Regions from separate parts of the Homo sapiens genome. Here region 1 is linked to region 2. Evidence: promoter capture Hi-C in 16 types of primary human blood cells and fetal thymus (Javierre and others, 2016). All regions are on one chromosome and are shown on one strand. Each heading gives the region's core, a stretch centred on a gene start or on the middle of the fragment in contact. The rest is flanking DNA. Distances are from core to core; before and after follow the strand shown.

What was found. The method cuts DNA at HindIII sites, captures the fragments that hold promoters and counts their contacts. A CHiCAGO score of 5 or more calls a contact.
Region 1: a contact is called between a fragment that was not itself captured here and the fragment with the promoter of SEPTIN12 in region 2, in 4 of 17 cell types (naive CD8 T cells, fetal thymus, naive B cells and 1 more). The highest score is 6.7, in naive CD8 T cells.

Annotation. Positions count from the first base shown.
Region 1 is chr16:4,505,812-4,509,897 of GRCh38, forward strand. It overlaps HMOX2 (heme oxygenase 2), which reads left to right. Exons shown (of 6, transcript NM_002134.4): 3 at 1,084-1,201; 4 at 1,902-2,393; 5 at 3,601-3,727; 6 at 3,818-4,086. The coding sequence ends at 3,945. Among named protein-coding and RNA genes, the nearest start is that of CDIP1, 31 kb to the right of the region's middle. The HindIII fragment of the contact is 1,078 bases long and covers 1,752-2,829 here.
Region 2 is chr16:4,786,010-4,789,997 of GRCh38, forward strand. SEPTIN12 (septin 12) reads right to left here and starts at 2,336. Exons shown (of 10, transcript NM_144605.5): 1 at 2,271-2,336; 2 at 1,471-1,658; 3 at 1-96. The coding sequence starts at 1,636. It also overlaps a transcript of SMIM22 not described here. The HindIII fragment of the contact is 19,587 bases long and covers 1-3,223 here.

The DNA of each region.
Region 1 (4,086 bases), core at 1,041-3,540, 280 kb before region 2:
AAGGAGGCAGGGCAGGTGCTCCTGGGAGTGCTGATAGGATTTGATGGTAGTTATCCTTTTTTCTTTTTAAAAACTTGTGCGTTTCCTCATCTGGGCTGAGAAAGGGTAAACGCAGGCAAAGCTGGCTCTGTTCAGTCTTTTACCACATAAAAGACTGCAGGGCAGCCTTTCCTTACTCTGTATAGGGACAGCTCATGCTAAACCTGAGCTTCCAGGCCCTGTTCTGCATCATTAGCCTCTCATAGCCCTGTCATTGGCCAAGTTTTTTTTTTATCCCTTGAAATAATTGCTAATAATAAATTGATTCTCAGCACATGGATGATAACGAGCTAATCTCCTAAAGAAGACAGCAGAAGCCAGACCATGATAAGGCCAAATTTTTCTCACTCTTGTAGATGGATTGTGTGGACACATGTAAGCCCCTGCCCAAGTACCACCATCTTTAGGATCACATGTTTTCTACCTTGTCCATCCATCCACACACCTTTACAACTGTGTAATTTCGTTAAGCAGCACAAACCCAGCGTCCTGGCCCTAGCCTCTCGGTTGTCTCCTTTGCATCCTTCCGTGCTTGGTCCTAGTCACATATAGTCTCAAAGAAGCTGTGGGTCCAAGGTGGGAGGAAGGCAGTAGGGCCATCTGAGGAGACCCATGGTCACAGCCTTACTGAGGTGTGTGAATTCCAGAAGACACGTTCCAAGGCAGGCTGTTCTTAGAGAAGCCAGCAAATACTGAAGGGAATACAGATGTGTGTCTCTTCGACCACTAGGTGGCCACAGAAGCAAAGCATTGCTCATTTGGGTGGTTCCCAACACAGACACATGGACGTGGGTACTACTCTCAAGGAGCAGGCCACAGTTATCCCTTGTGTCCTGAGTCCTTGGAGCAGAATGTCATGTCTGCTTGTCCTGTGTTCCCTGACAAGTTGCTGCTATTTGTGTTGGAGTGAAGTGTCTGAGAAGCCCCAGCCTCCAGTACAACAGGTGGTCACCTTGGGGTGTGGACTCAATCTTCTCTCTATGGTCCTTTCTGGAAAGCTGGGAAGGGCTAATTGACACACAAACACCTCCCATCTCTCCACAGAATGGCTGACCTCTCGGAGCTCCTGAAGGAAGGGACCAAGGAAGCACACGACCGGGCAGAAAACACCCAGTTTGTCAAGGACTTCTTGAAAGGCAACATTAAGAAGGAGCTGTTTAAGGTTTGTGCCCCGCATTGGGTTCCAGACTGTCATATGGGGTTGGGGTGGGGGCCTTGGTCCCATGAGAAAAGTGCCCCTGGAGCCACTCTGAGGGAAAAGCTGGGCTTTTCTCCACACTCCATTCCTTCTTGACGTTAAGCTCTGGCTCTCGGCTGGGTACAGTGGCTCATGTCTGTAATCCCAGCACTTTGGGAGGCCGAGGCAGGTGGATCACTTGAGGCCAGGAGTTTGAGACCAGCCTGGCCAACATGGTGAAACCCTGTCTCTACTAAGAATACAAAAATTAGCCGGGTGTGGTGGCGCGTGCCTGTACTCCCAGCTACTTGGGAGGCTGAGGTGGGAGAGTCACTTGAACCTGGGAGGCGGAGGTTACAGTGAGCCGAGATCGTCCCACTGTACTCCAGCCTGGGTGACAGAGCGAGACTCTTTACCCCGCCAAAAAAAAAAAAAATTGGTTCTCATGGCTTAGATAGAATAACATAGTGGTGTGAAGGAAGCAAAAGTATGCGTGTTCCAAAGACTTCACCATGCCATTCCTTTAAGAAACAAAAGCTTCCTTGTGTGTTAAATAATTCACTACATAAAAATGGACCATAGGATTGGGTCTTTGGGGTTGGGGGTTGTCACTTGAGCCTCTGCATCCAGCTGCTCGGATGTGGTGTGCTCAGGCATAGCTGGCCTCCTCCTGTCACCTCCACAGCTGGCCACCACGGCACTTTACTTCACATACTCAGCCCTCGAGGAGGAAATGGAGCGCAACAAGGACCATCCAGCCTTTGCCCCTTTGTACTTCCCCATGGAGCTGCACCGGAAGGAGGCGCTGACCAAGGACATGGAGTATTTCTTTGGTGAAAACTGGGAGGAGCAGGTGCAGTGCCCCAAGGCTGCCCAGAAGTACGTGGAGCGGATCCACTACATAGGGCAGAACGAGCCGGAGCTACTGGTGGCCCATGCATACACCCGCTACATGGGGGATCTCTCGGGGGGCCAGGTGCTGAAGAAGGTGGCCCAGCGAGCACTGAAACTCCCCAGCACAGGGGAAGGGACCCAGTTCTACCTGTTTGAGAATGTGGACAATGCCCAGCAGTTCAAGCAGCTCTACCGGGCCAGGATGAACGCCCTGGACCTGAACATGAAGACCAAAGAGAGGATCGTGGAGGAGGCCAACAAGGCTTTTGAGTATAACATGCAGGTACTATTGGGGGCTGCCAGCTGCTAGGGCTGAAGAGGGAAACTTTGACAGTGGTAGCAGATCCATAGTGGCCCATGAAGGCACACATGGCATTAGGACAGATGAGCTGCAGGGTGCCGAGAGGAAGGTGGCCACCAGATTGGCCACCAGAGCTTGTGGGCCCAGTGGGTGGTTCCCAGCATGGAGGCCTGGTGTGATAGATGCCAGTGGGTAGTGTTTTGGGAAGGGTGAGTCCTCTCGCACATAGAGGGGTCTGGAAGAATGGAGCTGGCTTCCTCCCTCATTGCAGGATGCTGGTCTTGAAGAATGGTTAATTTTCTTTTCAAGTTTTGCTCTGAGAAGCCCTGCTTTATAAGTTAATAGAGAGCCAGTGCCACCAAGGAGAGTAAATAAGCTCTGTTTACAAGTAGCCTTTAGATGAGGCTGAACCTGGGGAAGCTTACTCTGTCCCCAGGTCCTGTCAGCTTCCACTGAGGCCTCCCAGGGCACTCAGGATGAGTATGCCCTGCCACAGTCTCATTCTCCCATGTTCCAGGTTTTCTGTTGCTTCTTGATAAAAAAATAACCAGCACCTAGAAATGGGGATGTACTCATGCCCTCCTGTCTGTGCTGTGGTAGTTTCAGTGGCTTGAGCCACCTCAGAGAAGGCTACATCTCTGGTCAGTTCCCAGGGGAGACCCAGCATTTGGCAGCCTTCTTGGGGTACCAATATCCACACCTCCCCAGAGCTCTTGCTAGGGAGGGAAGACCATCAGGCAGTGCAGCTGCCGCCCACCAGTGCTGCTTGCTGTGTAGTTGGCACACCTGAGCAAGCTCACCTGCTCCAGCTCACTCTCTCTGGAGGGCGTCCTCTAAAAGGAGAGTGTAGCCAGGCGCAGTAGCTCATGCCTGTAATCCCAGCACTTTGGGAGGCTGAGGCAGGGGCATTACTTGACCCCAGGAGTTGAAGACCAGCCTGGGCAACCAAGGTGAGACACCATCTCCCCACAAAATTTAAAAATTAGCCAGGTATGGTGGTACACACACGTAGGAGGATAAGGTGGGAGGACCACTTGAGCCTAGGAGTTTGAGGCTGCAGTGAGTTAGCCATGTTCATAACACTGCACTCTAGCCTGGGCAACAGAGACCTCATCTCAAAAGACATTTAAAAAAAAAAAAAAAGTATGGGCAGCCCAAAGATGGCTCAGTCGATCCTCTGCTCCTGCAGATATTCAATGAACTGGACCAGGCCGGCTCCACACTGGCCAGAGAGACCTTGGAGGATGGGTTCCCTGTACACGATGGGAAAGGAGACATGCGTAAATGCCCTTTCTACGCTGCTGAACAAGACAAAGGTAGGTCTGTGTGTCCTGAGCTCCCCTCCTGGGGCAGGTGTAGCAGGAGACTCCACTGATGCCATGTCTCCTATTGGTGCTGCCACACAGGTGCCCTGGAGGGCAGCAGCTGTCCCTTCCGAACAGCTATGGCTGTGCTGAGGAAGCCCAGCCTCCAGTTCATCCTGGCCGCTGGTGTGGCCCTAGCTGCTGGACTCTTGGCCTGGTACTACATGTGAAGCACCCATCATGCCACACCGGTACCCTCCTCCCGACTGACCACTGGCCTACCCCTTTCTCCAGCCCTGACTAAACTACCACCTCAGGTGACTTTTTAAAAAATGCTGGGTTTAAGAAAGGCAACCAATAAAAGCCAGATG
Region 2 (3,988 bases), core at 1,086-3,585:
GGGGTGTGGGCACCCCCAAGCCCGGTGGGTTTGACTTCCACACTTTGGACTTGAACAGCGTGTTCACCATCGTGGACTTGCCCAGCCCGCTTTGCCCTGGGAGTGGCAACCGGATGACAGCAGTTAGGGTGGGCGTTTTAGGCAGTTTTTCTCTAACTCTTTACTTTTCTATTTTATTTTTGGAGACAGGTTCTCACTCTGTCACCCAGGCTGGAGTGCAATGATGCAATCCCCGTTCACTGCAGCCTCGACCTTCCCAGACTCTAGTGATTCTCGCACCTCGGCCTCCCTAGTAGCTGGGACTGTAGGCACACGCCACCATACCCAGCTGATTTTTGCACTGCTTTTTTTTTTTTTTTTTTTGAGACGCAGTCTCGCTCTGTCACCCAGGCTGGAGCGCGATGGTGGGATCTCGGTTCACTGCAAGCTCCGCCTCCCAGATTCACGCCATTCCCCTGTCTCAGCCTCCCAAGTAGCTGGGACTACAGGCGCCCGCCACCACGCCTGGCTAATTTTTTTGTATTTTTAGTAGAGACGGGGTTTCACCATGTTAGCCAGGATGGTCTTGATTTCCTGACCTCATGATCCGCCTGCCTCAGCCTCCCAAAGTGCTGGGATTACAGGCGTGAGCCACCACACCCGGCCTTGCACTGTTTTTTAATTTTTAAGACAGGGTCTCAATCTGTCACCCAGACTCAAGTGATCGCAGCTCACTGCAACCTCCACCCTCAGGTTCAAACGATCCTCCCACCTCAGCCCCCCAAGTAGCTGGGATTCAGGTGCATGTCACCATGCCTGGCTAATTTTTAAATTTTTTTTGTAGAGATGGGGTCTTGCTGTGTTGCCTAGGCTGGTCATGAACTCCTGGCCTCCAGGGATCCTTCTGCTTCAGTCTTGCTCTGTCACCCAGGCTGGAGTACAGTGGCGCAATCTCGGCTCACTACAACATCTGCCTCCCAGGTTCAAGCAATTCTCCTGCCTTAGCCTCCTAAGTAGCTCCTAAGTACAGGCGCCCACCACCACGCCTGGCAAATTTTTGTATTTTTAGTAGAGACGGAGTTTCCCCATGTTGGCCAGGCTGTTTTCGAACTCCTGACCTCAAGTGACCCTCCTGCCTTGGCCTTTCAAAGTGCTGGAATTACAGGCTTGAGCCACCATGCCCGGCCTCATTTTTGTACTTTTTGTAGACATTAGGTTTTGCTAGTCTCAAACTCCTGAGCTCAAGTGATCCACCCACCTCAGTCTCCCAAAACCCTGGATTATAGGTGTGAGCCACCGCTCCAGGCACATTTTTGTCTTTTAATGACTCAGCATTTCTCAAATTTTCAATGACAACATCCCTGTGAGGTGCTATTATCAGGCCCACCTAAGAGATGGGGAGGGGCGACAGGCTGCCAAAGGTGAGGCCACACGCCCAGGCACGCGTAGCACTGTGGGTCTGTCCTGCCGTGGGCCCTACCTCTCACTCACCCACCACCATGATGTTGAACTCAAACCCCATCTTCATAGCCTTGATCTTCAGCTGGTCCAGCACAGCCTCAATGCCCACAGGACCAAGCATCTCGCAGGGTGGGGTGCTGGGGCTGGAGGGCTGCGAGGACAGGCAGGGAGAGGGGGAGCGCCTCAGGGGGTCCATGGGGGCCAAGGGTTCGAGATGCCTGTCACCAGGTGGGTGGGGAGAAGGGGGTCACTGGGGCTCAGAGGAGCCCACATTGACCTCTCCTATCTGAACCCCTATTTGAGCTTGGCCGTTGGCCAACCCCCTCCACACTTCATGCCTCTGGTGTACCCTAAGTGCCTGTAGTCCCAGGGGTGTGGCAAGGGTGCCTGTGGGGAGCTGTTTCTGCAGGGTGCCTCAACACCCATCCAGAGAGGCTCCGCTGCCCAAGGGTCTGCCCTGTCCCCACCTACAGCCCAGGCAGGGGCCTCTCAGGTCGCTTCCCCCAGCAGAGCCTGGAGGGCCAGGCAAAGTCCAGGATGGGTGTTTGCAGCCAGGCTGGAGTCCTGGAGGGGCTTCAGGGAGTGTGTATGGGGTGAAGTGGCTCCCGTCCCAGCAGGAAACTTGGGCAGGGGGCTCAGGAGGAGGTGCCCCCACTTTCCCCAGGGGGACACACAGCAGAGTTGATAGAGAGCGAGAAAGACGGCACAGGCATGAAGGTGACGGAGACAGAGAGAGAGAGACCAAGGTCAGGCAGGGAAGATGGCTGGGAGGGAGCGGTGCGAAGAGCCCACGGGGGGCAGAGAGAGAGAGAAGCAGCCTGCTGTGACACCTGGTGGACGTGGGTCCTGGTGGAGCTTCCAGGAGCTGCCTTGTCCTGGCAGGGCCTGGTGTGTGTGATGGGGGAGGGGAGAGGGTGACAGTTAACCGAAGAATCTGAGCTCCATCTGCACTTGCTGTGACCCCCACCTGGAGGCTTCTCTGCAGCAGGAGCAGGAGCTGTTACCCTTCTAATCCCCACAATGACCCCAGCCTAATAATACAATAATCCCCAAGTAGAACCAGGGGCCCAAGGCCCCCTCGTCAGCTGGGCTCCCACCTCCAAGCTGACGCCCTCAACCACTCTGCTGGGGTGAGCAAACCCAGGCCCCACAGCTGGCTAGCGGGATATCCGTGTCCACGATTGGCGCCATGTGTTTTAAGTTGCAGCGTCAAAAACATGAAGAGATTGCTTTAGCAAATATTTACCCAGTCCTGACTCTGCACATGGCATCGTTCTAGGAGCCCAAAGATGTTAACTTGTTTAATAATCAAGCCCTGTGAAGTAAGTGCTGTTACTACCCCAAGCTGATAGATAAGAGAGGGTCAGGTGAGGAGGTGGCAGAGTCTCTGCCGCTCTGAGTCTGTGTGCTCACCCTCTACTGCCTTTTTCTGGTTTACAGAAACATCTAGATTTCCGGTGTATCTTAGAGGTTATCACCCTGACTTGAGATGCCCTCTTTAAATAGGCCATGTGCTTTCCAGACTGTGGTCCTCACCCCTGCCTTACTGTCTCTCTGATAAGCTGTTTCTTTTTTTGTTGTTTGTTTTTGAGACAGCCTCGCTCTGTTGCCCTTGCTGGAATGCAGTGGCGCGATCTCGGCTCACTGCAACCTCCGCCTCCTGGGTTCAAGCAATTCTCTTGCCTCAGCCTCCCAAGTAGCTGGATTACCGGTGTGCACCACCACGCTAATTTTGTATTTTTAGTAGAGAAGGGGTTTCACCACATTGGTCAGGCTAGTCACAAGCTTCTGACCTCAAGTGATCCACCAACCCTGGTCTCCCAAAGTGTTGGGATTAGTGAGCCACCATGCCTGGCCTTTTTTTTTCTTTTTTCCTTTTTTTCTTTTTTTTTTTGAGACGGAGTCTCGCTCTGTCACCCAGGCTGGAGTTTAGTGGCATGATCTCGGCTCACTGTAAGCTCTGCCTCCCGGGTTCACGCCGCTCTCCTGCCTCAGCCTCCCGAGTAGCTGGGACTACAGGCGCCTGCCACCACGCCCGGCTAATTTTTTCCTATTTTTAGTAGAGACTGGTTTTCCCTGTGTTAGCCAGGATGGTCTCGATCTCCTGATCTCGTGATCTGCCCTCCTCGGCCTCCCAAAGTGCTGGGATTACAGGCGTTAGCCCCTGCGCCCAGCCCTTTTTAAAATTTTTTTGAGACACGGTCTCACTATGTTGCCCATGCTGGTCTCAAACTCCTGGGTTCTAGTGATCCTCTCACCTCAGCCTCCCTAAATGCTGAGATTACAGACGTGAACCACCATGCCCAGCCTGATAAGCTGTTTCTTATACCAAGTCCATCTCACACAGTTAATTCTTTCTTGTTTCCTGGTACTTGACTTCACAAGGCTTAGGCATTCCTGTGTCCTTGCTATTGGCAAATGTTTTCTCTTTCTTTTTTCTTTCTTTTCTCCTTTCTTTTCTTTCTTTTTTTTTTTTCTTTTTTGGGACAGGGTCTCACTTTGTCACCCAAGTTGGAGTGCAGAGGCACAATGACAGCTCACTGCAGCC